Linked DNA regions of Homo sapiens: all the other regions are linked to region 1. Evidence: promoter capture Hi-C in human tissues and cell types (Jung and others, 2019). All regions are on one chromosome and are shown on one strand. The core of a region is centred on a gene start or on the middle of the fragment in contact, and the rest is flanking DNA. Distances in the headings are between cores, read along the strand shown.

Region 1 (4,411 bases), core at 1,376-3,875:
TAGGGAGTGTAGTAACAACTGCTGTACCTATAGGCTTGTCTGCTTCACGCCTCCCTGGCCAGTGATCCCCCTCACTTAAGAATTTCAAGGAGACGGCAGGATACTCAAGTCAACCCCACGGCAGGATACTCAAGTCAACCCCGAGGTCCTCAGGTCCAGGCCAACTGGCCTGGCTCTTAGAGGTGATGTTCCCCCACCAGGGCCTCCACTGGAGAGGTGAGGCTGGGGAGCTGACTGTGCTGTGAAGACATGAGCAAGCCGCCAGCAGAACTGGCATCACCTACAAAAGCACACAAGTGACACCCGTGGTCCCCTGCAATCCTCTTTCATGTTGTCAGACACCAGACGTGGCTCTCTACCAGTCCCAGCTGCTCAGAACCAGAGCTTCGCCTGCCCTGAGGGAGAGATGTAGGAGGCAGACAAGCCCGAGGTGCTGGGGTCTCTGGCCATTACACGTGGCCAGGCCAGTTAAAACTTTATAACCTGCCTCCTGCCAGCTGGAGGTTCCTGCAGTTGGGCCACAGACCTGGCGCCAGGGAGGGGACGAATCTCAAGGCCCCTTTCACTGAAGGCAGGAGCTGTCTGTGCTGGGCCTTCCCTCCCTTCCCCATCCAGCGCCACACACGGAGGCTCAGGAGGTCGTGTGTCCCAGCCCCACTTTATTTTCGAATTTAAAACTCAGGGTCAATTCCTGGGGTTCCCAGGCAACCCTCCCTCGAGCCCACTCACTAGGGGCCAGCCCTAGATCTTGAAGGCCAAGGTGAGTCCATCGCCCAGGGGCAGGAGGCTGATGTAGACCCTGACGTCCCGCCGGATGCGTTCGTTTAGGTTTCGCACACACTCGGCCGCCACGTCCCCTTTCGGAGGTTGCAGCACCTTCCCGCGCCACAGGACCTGCGGGAGGGCGGGGCCAACCGGGCCGTGGGAGGCGGGGCTTCGGAGGGAGGTGCTCGGGCGGAAGGCGGGGGACTGGGAGGGAGGTGCCCGGGCGGGAGGCGGGGTCTTGGAGGGAGGTGCCCAGACGGAAGGCGGGGTCTCGGAGGGAGGTGTCTGGGCGGGAGGCGGGGCCTCGGAGGGAGGTGCCCGGGCAGGAGGTGACCAGAGCTGGAGACAGAACCAAAGCGGAGGAAAGCCTGGGTACCGGGGCCGGAGCCCCGGAGGGGGTGTAGCCTACGTGACTGGACTGGGTGGGGCTTTGGGGTATAAGAGGAGTCAAGGGAAAAGATGGGGACCCGGCCCGACAGGGTGCTTTCTCCTCCCCCGCAGTGGATCCCTTACTCTGAGGACGGCGAGGATGCCTCCGGGTCGCAGCAGCTGCAGGCAGCGCTCGTAGTAGGCGGAGCAGTTCTCCTTGTCCGCATCCACCACGGCCACGTCGAAGGTGCCGGCCTCGCCCGCCGCCAGCAGCTCGTCTTGCGGGGGGAGGGAGGGCAGGTGCGGCTGAGTCCGCGGCCCCGGCGGCCCTGAGGCCCCTCCCAGGCCGGCCCGGGCTCTGTGACAACCGGCCCTGCCCTTAACCTGCCCGGCAGGCCCAGTCACAGCTCGGCCACACAGCAGCCTCGTTTGCAATGAATGGCTTCAAAGCCCTTCCCGCTTCGGTGCTCACCCAGGGTCTCCAAGGCGGGCTTCAGCCGGAGGTCGATCTTGTGCTCCGCCTCGGCCTGCGGAGGGAGCGGGTCAGCCGTTGCGCCCCCGCCTGGGGCTGCAGAGCTAGGCGCGGGCGCTCACCTGCCTCCACAGGGGCCGTCCCAGCTCCGGGGGCTGCGCGTCCACCTCGCAGGTCACCACGCGCCCGTCCGCGGGCAGCGCCAGGGCCAGGGCCAGGGCGGAGTAGCCCGTGAAGGTGCCTGGGACCAGGACACAGACGGGCTCAGCCCAGAGTGGGGGTCGGCCCGGAAACCTCGGCCCTCCGGGATCCCGGCCGCGTGCCCCTACCCAGGTCCAGCGCCTTCTTGGCCTGGATGAGCCGCGCCAGGTTGGCCAAGAGCTGGGCCTGCTCGCAGGTCATCATAGAATCCCCCTGCGGCTGCTCCAGGGTCAGCTGCGTGAAAGGAGAGGGTGGCACCAGCCATGCAGGTCACCCACCTTCGCCCTGGGGGTCCCAAGCCCCAGGGGCGCGGTTCTGGGCGTGGCCTGGGGGACTGGCCCTTCGGAACGCCCACCGCACCCGGCCCAGGGAAGCCGGAAGCCCAGGGAGGGCCAGGGCCCAGCCCAAGGTCACACAGCCACGTGGGACCCGCAGGGGTCGAGAGGGACGCCCGTTTCCGTCCCGCGCCCTGCTGACCAGCCTCAGGCTTCGCAGCGCCGGGTGCTCCCGCATGGAGCGGCTCAGAAGATACTGCCACAGGCGGCTGTCCTCGGGGGGAAGCAGGCACTGCTCTCGCCGGCCTCGCCATGGGGGGCACCGCCTCCCTGACGGGGAGAGGGTGTTGGATTAACCTGAGCCACGCCGCGCCCTACTCTGCGCCCGCCCACCCGCCCGCCGGGACCAGGTCCTGCTCACCCAGGAAGAGGCCAGTGGCGAAGGCGGCGCCCAGTGCGGCTGAGCCCAGGGCCAGCGCGGCGGGCACGGAGAGCCGGGGCACCGGCTGGGTCATGGCGCGGGCAGGAGGCGGCGGGAGGCAGTGACAGGTCACGTGAGCTGGAGCTCCTGGGACAGGTCTCGGACTCGCGGGCCCGCCGGGCTCCACCTTGTCGGGGCACTACCCGCGGAGCCGCGGTCTCGGGCATCATCTGGCGGCCACACAGCCTTACTGCAAGCCCCGCCCGAGAGAGCCGGGCGCGATCTGGTGGCCGCGCCGGGAACTGCGCCCCTGCGGGGAGCAGGCCAAGCGCCTAGATCTGAATTTTCCCGCCTGTGCCCGCAGTCCAGGTGCCTGCCTCCATTCCCCTCCTGCCAATGCTTTTTTCTCCTCGCCACCATTTATTCTGAGGCCCCTTGGGGGCATATGTGAATTGTGTATGGAGGGCGCCAGTGTAAGTTACAAGATAGTCACAAGTACAAGAGATAGAGATTAAAGGGGGAAGGCCTCCTGGACAAGATGCCCCAAAGCATCAGGCTGAAGGAGTGAGGGAACTGGTTTGAGGGCATGCAGCCTCGAATTGGGGTTCAGGAGCCCTGGGGTGGGCCTGTGGAACTGAGACCATATTCTTAGCTGTTAAAATCCTGCTTTTGGGGGCCAGATGGATACGAGTGTCTAATCTTGGTCCTGCCAGTCTCTCTGAGCCTCAGTTTCCTTCCTGTAAAATGAGGCCTACAATCTTACCATAAAAGGCACCAGATCCCACAGCTTCGCACACAGTAGCACAATACATAAGTGGCAGCTGCTGTTATGTTGGTAGGTTGGAATGAAGACATCTTGGGGAGAAAGCCGGTGAAGCTCCCTTGCAAGGTTGTTCTGTTGAAACACTGTCCAGAGAACACTGATTGAACCCCTACCATGCGCCAAACTCCGGAGGAGGTGAAAGACGCTGACGCTGTCCTTTTTTTTTTTTTTTTTGAGACTGAGTCTCGCTCTGTCACCCAGGCTGGAGTGCAGTGGCACAATCTGGTCTCACTGCAACCTCCACCTCCTGATTCAAGCGATTCTCCTGCCTCAGACTCTGGAGTAGCTGGGACTACAGGCACGCACCCCTACACCCAACTAATTTTTGTATTTTTTGTAGAGACGGGTTTTGCTATTTTGGCCAGGCTGGTGTCAGACTCCTGGCCTCAAGTGATCTGTTTGCCTCGTCCTTCCAAAGTGCTGGGATTACAGGCCTGAGCCATTGTGCCTGGCGTTGGTGTTCTTTTTTTTTTTTTTGGCAAGGTCTCTGGCAAGGCTGAAGTGCAGTGGCAAGATTACTGCTTATTGCAGCATCGAGCTCCCAGGCTCAGCAATCCTCTTGCCTCAGCCTCCCAAGTAGCTGGGACCACAGGCGGTCACCACTGTGCCCAGCTAATTTAAAAAAAAAAATTTTTTTTTTAAAGAGAAGGGGTCTTACTATGTTGTCCAGGCTGGTCTCGAACTCCTGGCTTTAAGTGATCCTCCTGCCTCAGCCTCCCAAAGTGCTGGGATTACAGGTGTGAGCCCCCGTGCCTGGCCTCTGGTTGGTATTCTTAGTGAAGCTGGTTTCAGAGATGCAGGTCACACACAGCTGGCGGGTGGCCTAAGCTTCACGACTTCTGCCTCTGTGAAATGGCGTTATGAATAGTCCCAACCTCCTAGGGGACCAAATGAGAAAATCCAGGCTGAGGACTTACACAGGGGACCAAATGAGAAAATCCTGGCACTTAGTGAGCTGTCATGTTACCTTTAAAAGGAGTCAAAGTCCGAAGGGCAGCCGGTTATCTTCCTGCTGCACTGCAGATGTCCCCTGGGGTGGAGGCTGTAAGAGCCTTTTTTTTTTTTTTTTTTTTTTTTTGAGATGG
Region 2 (4,496 bases), core at 1,330-3,829, 820 kb before region 1:
AAAGCCTTATTTCTGAGAACTAAAGCAAGGCATCAGCGAACCATATCTGACATGCCATGTTAATTTCCATAACTATCATTTCTGGGAGGTGGTAGGATTTCTAAGGCATGGAGAATCTCAGTAAATCTACTTTAAAAAAAAAAAAAGCAAAATATCTGTTTTATTACTGGGTTTCCATTCACGAGCCCTGACTGCTTCATTCCCACTTAAATAATTTCAAAAATAGTGATAAGCATATTTTTTCTCTTATAGATTATTAAATATTTACTCACGTGCACAATATATCAAAACATATTTTGAATTCTATATTCTTAGTGTTGGGTGTTCATGTTGTGAATGAAAACCTCATTCTGTTATCTCATAGCATATTTATATATACAAATAATTTTTGCCTTAAGTAGGAAAGAAACAGCTAAAAGATACATAGGTTATTTTGCTTTTTAAAATTTTAGCAAACTATTCTGTGAATCTTTTGTGTGTTTGGGGCTGTTTGTAGAGGAAAATTTCATCAAGCAACATTTTGGGAACATTGGCCTTTTGTACTCTTTCCTAAATAAACAGAAACTTGTACTCCCCAAAATAAAATGTTTCTTTGTATATTGTTACCTGCAAGTTATTGATAATGGAAGGAACACCTTTTCAATCCTTAGTCCCCTTTCCCCCAACACAGCTTTTAGATTGTCGATAAACTTCCCAGCTCAGTAATTAACTGAGCTCAGTCATTGCACCCTGTATCATGTGATTTTTTTTTCCAGTGGAATACATTATTAGAGCACTTACACAGCCAGTCTAGCTGCAGCAGCCCAGGCGGCAACAGCAGTGCCATTTTTCACAAAGAAAATGTTGAACAGGAGCCAAATGTTTGGTGGCAGTCTGTTGCTAGGAAATCAAGGTCCTGAGGCGATTAATGACAAAGCAAGCAATAACAAGAAGGCAGAATTACAGATTTAAAAGAGAAAAAAGTGGTTGGTGTTATAATTACCCAAAGAAATCCGCACTCATTAAATTGGCTGTTTTTATGATTGACTTTAATTGGAGGTTAGCTCAGATATTTAGCTCCTTTCCCACCCCTTTAAACACACACAGGCACATAATCTGTAGAACTGCAGACTTGTTTTTCTAAGCATTGAGAGGAGCTTGCCCTGTAATTTGATCCCCACTGACAGATGCATTTTCTATGCTGCCATTTTGAATTAACCTATTGTAGAACAATTTTCTTCAGCCCTGTTGAATAAAACATCCAGTCTGATTACCTCCGATGGATTTGATAGAGTAAAAGAATGTACTTCTCATTGAAGTAGATTGTTTGCATGGACTCTACTGATTGTGAACTCTGCCAGTAAGCACAATCATTTGTAATAAATTTTCAAAGAAATTTGTGAGGAAAAGGTAATGAGAGTCACCCTTTTATAGTTTAATGTTTGGCACCTCCATCAAAATAATATAATTCTTATAAGACAGTGTTATTTTTCCAGTAAGCTTTTCACGTGGTTTTAGAAAAAATTTCTGAATCTTCATTTGGACTATTCATATATTTAGGAATAGAGTCTTGTATTTACACTCTAAAATGACCATTCTTCCTCCCCAACAACAGTATTTTAGTGCAAGACTCAATATGCAAAGCACTCTATTGCAAAAATATTTTTGGTATGTACAATATTTAAAGTGATTTTAAGATTGGCCTATTTCAGTCTTTGAAGTATTTCCCCCCCCCAAAAATCCCTTATTTAAATTTTTTAGGGTGTGATAAAGCATATTACTAGAAAAGCATCAATCGGTCTTTCAGGTACAATACCAGAGGAACCATCACAGTTTATTTACCTTTCAGAAGCTTTAAAAATAAAGTTACATGATGCCTCTGCTCTCCAGATTTCTAATCAAACCCTGGAACAAAAGAGCCAAGCACATTCTATCTGACAATGCACACACTGCTAATCAGATGCCAATGCCAAGCTGTCTGCTTTGTTAAATACTTAGCTTCCTAGAGGCAGGAAGACAGCTGCTATAAGTATGATGAAATTTTGTAGTTCAATCTATTTTTGCTACCCTTGGGCTACCAAGATACTGTTAATTTAGACCACCCCAATTGGTACATTTTAGGGAGTTTTTTAAAGAGTTTGTAATTAAAATGATAAAACATCGTTATTACATTGAAGACCTTCTGTAAGTTTTACATTTGGCAGATACCTACTGAGATAACCCCAGCATGTAATTTACAATGATGTAATGGTTGTAATTGCATTTTAGAAAAAAAGAACTATAGGAGGCAAGTGCTTCCATTAGAAGAGTTTTTAAATCTGCTTCTGTTTCATTTAAATCTACTTCTATCCCCAAATTACTTACTTATAATTGACTAGAGCAGCTATAAACCTTAAGATGCTATCTGAATATTTTTAAAAAGTTATCACCCCAGACACTGCCACCAGGGGGAGGAAGCTAAAATCTTAAAGTTCTTAACTGATGATGATACTGCCAGTAGGTAGATTATATTGCTTAGCCCTACATAGTTAACTACTTCCTCCAGATAATACCGCCTTTTGGGACATGATTCTCACAACCTGTAATATGTGATACCTGTAGACTTAGCACACTATTAATTGTAAATAAAATGGAAACTTTCGTACTCTGGTGGTTGGGGTCAGGAAGGGGAAAGAGGAAGTACAAATAAGCAACCTGGACATTTTTATTGTTTTTCTCTTATCTGTTAGTCTACTTGAAGAGCTATCCTTGAAAGTGAGTGCTTTAGATCTATGAAACTGGGCAGCTATCATAGCACATCTATTAAGATCTAATAATCACATAATTAATGTAGCAAAATGAATAGACTGTAAGGTAGTTTTCTATTTTTTGTTACTACACTGTGGTTTTGTTTTTAATAAATAGTTTTGGCTTTATTTTAAACAATTAAAAATTCAAAATATTTTTATGACCAAAGCTTGTAGGTTCTATCCCTGGAAAATATTTTATAAATGCAGAAAATAGTTGCTTAGGATTGGAATCCAACTCTGTTTACCATGAACAACTTAAAAGTTGATCTCATAATCTTGCATGTTGTGGAATAATACCACGAAAAAGTTAATTAAAGAATTTAGATGTTTGTTCTCCTGTCTAGAACTCAATAACTTTTAAGTAGTAACTCTCCCTACAGTTTAACTGTTAAACAGTAACTCTTCTGACAGTTTTAGGTTTTATTCTGTGAAGACTCATGATTTTTAATTTTTGCATCTTAATTTTTCAGTTATTTCAGGTATTGAAATTACAAACGACGGGAAAGAAAAGTGGTTGACTAAAAAGGGGATACAAAAGGCAATTTTTAGGGCGATGTACTGTTCTGTATGGTACTGTGGTGGTGGATACATGATACTATGCATTTGTTAAAGCCCAAAGAACTGTACATCACAAAGGGTTAATTTTAATGTATGCAGGTTTTTTAAATGTTAGGGATTTCAGGATAGAATGCAAGCTGTAACAAATGAATCTAATTGTATTACAAATGTATGGCATAACTTCACTGAATGGGTGGGGGAAAAGGAGCTGACCTAAGTAACTTTGGAAAATGGTGTTTTGATTGGACAATGTAAAGCTAAAGACTAAGGAACACTATAGAAACACTCTATTCTAGTTGGTAAATTTGTTTCTCATAACGGTATGGGTGAACAGTTCTGAACCTCTTTACATGTATCCTGGGGTTGAACAAATAAGTAAATGGATGATGAATGGTGGAAGCTAGGTTTCTCACTGTCAGGAAGGGATGTTACAGATAAATAAACAAGAGGGGAGAGCCAGAATGAAACCTGTGGTACTGGATTAGAGTTGGAGATATAAGTATTTACTCATGTTTAGCTTAATATATGCAGATGGATAGATGCAGAAATAATTATAGATGCATGTGTATATGTGGATTAGTATACATGCATATGTTTCCTAGCTGTGTTTACTGAGAAGGCCTAGAAGCAGTGATATCCCAGTAGCCACAAACACATCTAACGCTCACATCCTGGTTTGTAAATCCTATTCTCCAATAAAAGGATCCAGGACTCCTTTTAAATATGACTGATTCTGGGGCTGGTGATGGGAAAATACAACATAAGCATGGAATATCTTGTAGTGCCAGAAGGCAAGAGATTTCTTAAAAATAATAAAGATTAAGCATGCCAAAAGGGACACATGAGCCAATGTGAAAGAACTCCGAGTGGCCGTAGCTGGAATAATTAGAGCAACAAAATAAAACATGTAGCATTGGATTAAGGATAAATTATTGAGTAAATATACATGAGTTCACAGTGTTATGTATAAATTGTATAAATAAGTAAATGGAGGAGAAGAGATAAATCTCCCTGACAGAAGAATTCCAAATAACATATTGCCCCCTCCAGAAGGGGGATCCTACTTCCCTTCTCCTTGAGAGTATGAGCTGGATTGAGTGAGTCATATCCAAAAATTGAGTTTGGAAGACAGCGAAATACTGACTTGACTATTTCCATTGGAGAAAGCTG
Region 3 (4,237 bases), core at 693-3,192, 930 kb before region 1:
CAGTTTCCAATGTTACTACTTCAGCCTTATGTAATTGCTAAAATCCCTACTGTTTTCCCCCTATTGCCCCCTTCCTTATCATTATCTTCTGCTAAGCACAAAGTGTGAATTTTCAGGTTCCACATGTAACCAGTATAAGTATATCCTTCCCCCCAAACCCCAGTGGAAATGTGCCACGGATCCTTATTTTTATTCTCCACTCCTTCTAGGGCTTTCATTTCTTGCCTATTATGTTTTTAGTTGCTCTTTTCTTGTTCTGTCTTTGTAAGCACAGCTAGAGTCAGAGAACTTTCTGCTTTTGGAACTATTTTGGTTAACCTCTTTAACTTAGCATTCAGTTTCAGAATTCAGCAAATGTGTTTTGGGGCAAACTAGCTGTGTGTTTTAGGTTTGGGAAATGTCAAATTTTGTTTCTCTGTCTTCATGCTTCTGGCTGCAAATGTTGGCAGGTGGAACAAAAAGCTGCCAGTTCTGGCCTGCCCCTGTGAACAGGTCTCACCTCTCCGGAAATTTATCCACTTTGTCCTTGTTGCTTCAGAGCTCTTTGGTACCATTAACAATGTGACTTATGATTTATATGGCCTTCCTAGGTGTCATCAGTAGGAATGTTGGCTGTGATGCAGTATATGCTACCCAGAATCGGAAGTTCCATATATTATGTTTTGATAAGAGATTTTAGGTGTTTGAGTATTTCTGATGAGTGACATTTTTTGAAGTTTGCTAGAGAGAAATAATTAGCTAGTTATTGCTTAACTACTCTCTCTCCATATCTATTACATATGTTTCTGGAATATTTCTATGGTCAGAGAAACTCAGGCCCATTATAAACCATGGACTCTGGTAGAAATAGAAGCTGAAAGCAAACCAGTAAGGGAGGTGGAGTGTATAATTTGTGTTTTGGAAGTACCTGCCGGTGGACTTGGGGGTGATGCTCTAGGTTTACCATGAGATTACTCATCTAATTTTGAGAACCACTGTCCTGCAGTATTTTTCTTTTGCTTACATATGACTTTTTCTTTTTATGATTTAAAACTAAATGTCAACCAGTTACTATTTAATGAAAATCATAAATTGGTTTAGTGAAATTTTGTTGTGTTCTTACAATGGGTAGAAACCTAATGCACTTATCATGCATCTAAATTTAGGAATAATTCATTTTATTTTAATCATCTATACTTATATACAAAATGCTTTTCAGCAGTATATTTGATTATCTTAGGTACAATGATCTTCATGTTCAGAGTTATAAATGGGAATAATTAAACCTTTAAACATATTAGAGTTGAATAAGGGCTTATCTAAGCAATACATGCTTAAAATTGCTTTCTTATCAAAAAAATAAAATTGGAGGTTCAAGAAGTGTCTTTAAATTACAATCCTTATGAACTAATAGCTTAACCTTAGTTTTGAATAACTGTTACTTTTTCCGTCTTTTAAAAAGATGCTTAAAAATAAACGCATGTCGAAAATGTTATTTTGGCTTTTAGCAAACTGACATTTGAGTTTTTTAAAACCTCACTAAACATTTGTGGTAAAAGATTTCAAAGCTTTGAATTTTACAATTTGCCTGTCGATTCCCCCCCTGTGTTATTCTATTAACATTTGATCTTAATAAGTATAACCTGTTTAGAATGACTTATGTTTTTAATTATTTGTTTAGATGAGAAGTTTAAGGAATAACTTCATCAGAAATTCTACTTGGCAGTTATGAATGCTTTCTTAAGGAAGTTAAATTTTTGGAATTTCACTGTAAAGATTTTAATCACATGTCCTATTCTTCATACATCAATCTATAAATGTTCAAAAATTGTTAATGTTGTTTTTATGCTGTGCTGATGTTAACACAACGTGAGGTCTTCTTTCTTCTCCTGATAATATGCTGAGCGCACACACACTCTCATATGCTCACTCGCTCTCTCTCTCTCTCCTTCCCTCCCACCCCTGAGTTTGAAATAAGTTAGTGGCTTTAGTTTCTTTGAAAATGGAAAGCAATTGCCCTTAGGTAGAACTGGAAATTGTAAAGTGTTGGTTTTGTGGACATTTTCCTGTTCATAATTCTTGTTATATCTTATTTATAAGTACTTTTATTCATATAGGAATAAATGATTCTATGTTGAAGGGTATAATCATGAAGTCTTTTTTATTTTTTCGTGTTAGATAAGGAGAAAAATGACACATTAAAAATTACAGTGCTATTTGTGTTTTAAAATTTCTTCTGTCGCTTTTGTATTCCTTATTGTTCTCTTCACTTTTTCTATTGTTTTTCTAGCTTTTCAGGATACATTTTCTAAATGCATCCTAAATATAACTTACAATAGTTGCCTTTTATTTAAAAGTAATACATTTAGTTTCCAACCACAAAGTGTTTAATTCTACATATTTCTATTTTTATTTTACATGATCTTAATATATCCTTGATTACTGTGTTGATCTTCTAGTTTTTAGGCTGCCACTTATACCATCAAAAGCCATTTAAACTGGACTTAGAGGATAATGAATCTAAATTTTCTTATCTTCCTCAAAACAACAGATACAATTAAAGTCACAAATAAGCTGTACCTTCAGAATTGCTAGGAGACAGAACATAGTAAGAATTCAAATCTCTTATAAGCAGAGTTATAAACATCATATTCCAATATTGATTCTGCTGCTTTGTCTGTACATTTGGAGAGCAGAGGTAGCAGGGAGGTTTAAGAGACTGAAAAAAGGGAGAGGGGTGTATGAAGTGTAGATCAGTAACAAACACCATCACTCTTGAAAAGAAAAAGTCCAACAGAGGTCCTAGACCTGTGTTTTAGACAGGTGGGAGGACAGTAAATTAATTTTTAAAGACAAAATAATTATATTGAATGAATTTATTGATCATTTTGTTGAACAGTTAGTATAAGGACATCCCGTATTATATTTCAGCTTTCATAAACTATAAGTGTTTATGTCTTATATTTTGTGTTCTTTCAACTTTATCTTAATTTGCTTCTGTTATTTTTAATGCCATTTTTGTACATTTGTTTAATATTACTATATTCATCTTTGTTGTAATTTTTTCCTGTAATAATGTAACATAAATAATTATAATATTACAAAGTTTATTAAATTTCTTCCAATGATAATTAATATAGTAGGCTTGTGGTGGAAAAATGGATCAGGTACTGTCCTTCCAATTCTGTCAGGCTTTTGATTGAGGTGTTTATATGGCCACCCCGTTCAGACAAAGAATGTCAACCAAAAGGAGAAAGTAAGAAGGAATCTATAAATTACTAAAATTCCCATACTTTATTTCCTATGGAAAAAGTCATGTAAGGAAAATATATAGAAGTTTCCCGTAAAATGTAATAATATCATAAACTCTTTCATCCTTAAACACCTGTTAGTCTTGCCACAGCACAATCAGTTCCCTAAAGATAAATATTTCTTGGTTTGTTAGTTGGCTACTTAGGAGTTCCTTTTCCTTCTTATGAGTTTTCTTCTCTCCTGTATTTCTTTTCTAACACCATCCAACTGGTTATCCAAACTAGCAACCTCAGAATTTTCATCCCTCTTCCACATCTTACATTTCTTTATCACATCCTGTGTCTTCAACTTCGGAATGATTCCTTACTTTGGTCTCGTCTCTCTATCCTGTCTTTCGTATGAGCTATTCTAAAGGCAGGTGGTCTGCTTCTCTTTACTCTGTCCAGTGTTATCATCATTTTTAAAAAGTCTGCTTTTCACACTGTTGCTAAATAGAGTTTAATAATTTCTAGTAGCCTTCAGAATAATGTCTACACTTATTAGCCTGATAGTTACCTTTTCTTTGTCAGTTTTTACTACTTTGATTTTGACCTGCATTTTAGTCTGTGTTTAACTGGTTTTTCTGAATACGTCATGTTTATTGTTTTAGCCTCAACCCTGAATTTTTTTTTTCTCCCTTAAGTGTCAAATTTCAATTCAGATGTTAAACTTTCCCTGCCTTTTTCATTCAGAATCACTTCTTTCTTTGCTCTTGTTTTTTATTCAGCTTTGTTCTATATATGGTTCTTTAAAAATAATTGTATGGAAAATTGCTATGTTCTTTTATTATAAAATGAAGTTGATTTTTCATTACAAAACAGTTTATATGCTTATTGCACAATCTAAACAGATGTATAAAAGAGCCATAATTGTTCCTAATTTGGCGATAACTACTGTTAATACCTTGGTTGTATTCTTCCAGGTTCTTTTCAGTAGACATGTATATTGGGTAATTTTGTTTACACAA

What was found. The method cuts DNA at HindIII sites, captures the fragments that hold promoters and counts their contacts. A contact is called where the count stands out against the background at its distance.
Region 2: a fragment that was not itself captured here is called in contact with the fragment with the promoter of COMTD1 in region 1 in 1 of the 25 tissues and cell types used here (H1 embryonic stem cells).
Region 3: a fragment that was not itself captured here is called in contact with the fragment with the promoter of COMTD1 in region 1 in 1 of the 25 tissues and cell types used here (mesendoderm cells).

Annotation. Positions count from the first base shown.
Region 1 is chr10:75,233,332-75,237,742 of GRCh38, forward strand. COMTD1 (catechol-O-methyltransferase domain containing 1) reads right to left here and starts at 2,626. Exons shown (of 7, transcript NM_144589.4): 1 at 2,504-2,626; 2 at 2,285-2,412; 3 at 1,936-2,041; 4 at 1,729-1,847; 5 at 1,607-1,661; 6 at 1,279-1,412; 7 at 310-894. The coding sequence starts at 2,597. The coding sequence ends at 742. RefSeq lists an enhancer at 575-724 and silencers at 1,355-1,584, 1,745-2,034, 2,165-2,244, 2,405-2,544, 2,580-2,874 and 1 more. The HindIII fragment of the contact is 14,083 bases long and covers 1-4,411 here.
Region 2 is chr10:74,417,618-74,422,113 of GRCh38, forward strand. All of the region lies in intron 6 of ADK (adenosine kinase), which reads left to right. Among named protein-coding and RNA genes, the nearest start is that of ADK-AS1, 110 kb to the right of the region's middle. RefSeq lists an enhancer at 390-1,625. The HindIII fragment of the contact is 5,136 bases long and covers 12-4,496 here.
Region 3 is chr10:74,306,949-74,311,185 of GRCh38, forward strand. The region is part of intron 3 of ADK (adenosine kinase); the gene reads left to right. Among named protein-coding and RNA genes, the nearest start is that of ADK, 160 kb to the left of the region's middle. The HindIII fragment of the contact is 5,647 bases long and covers 1-4,237 here.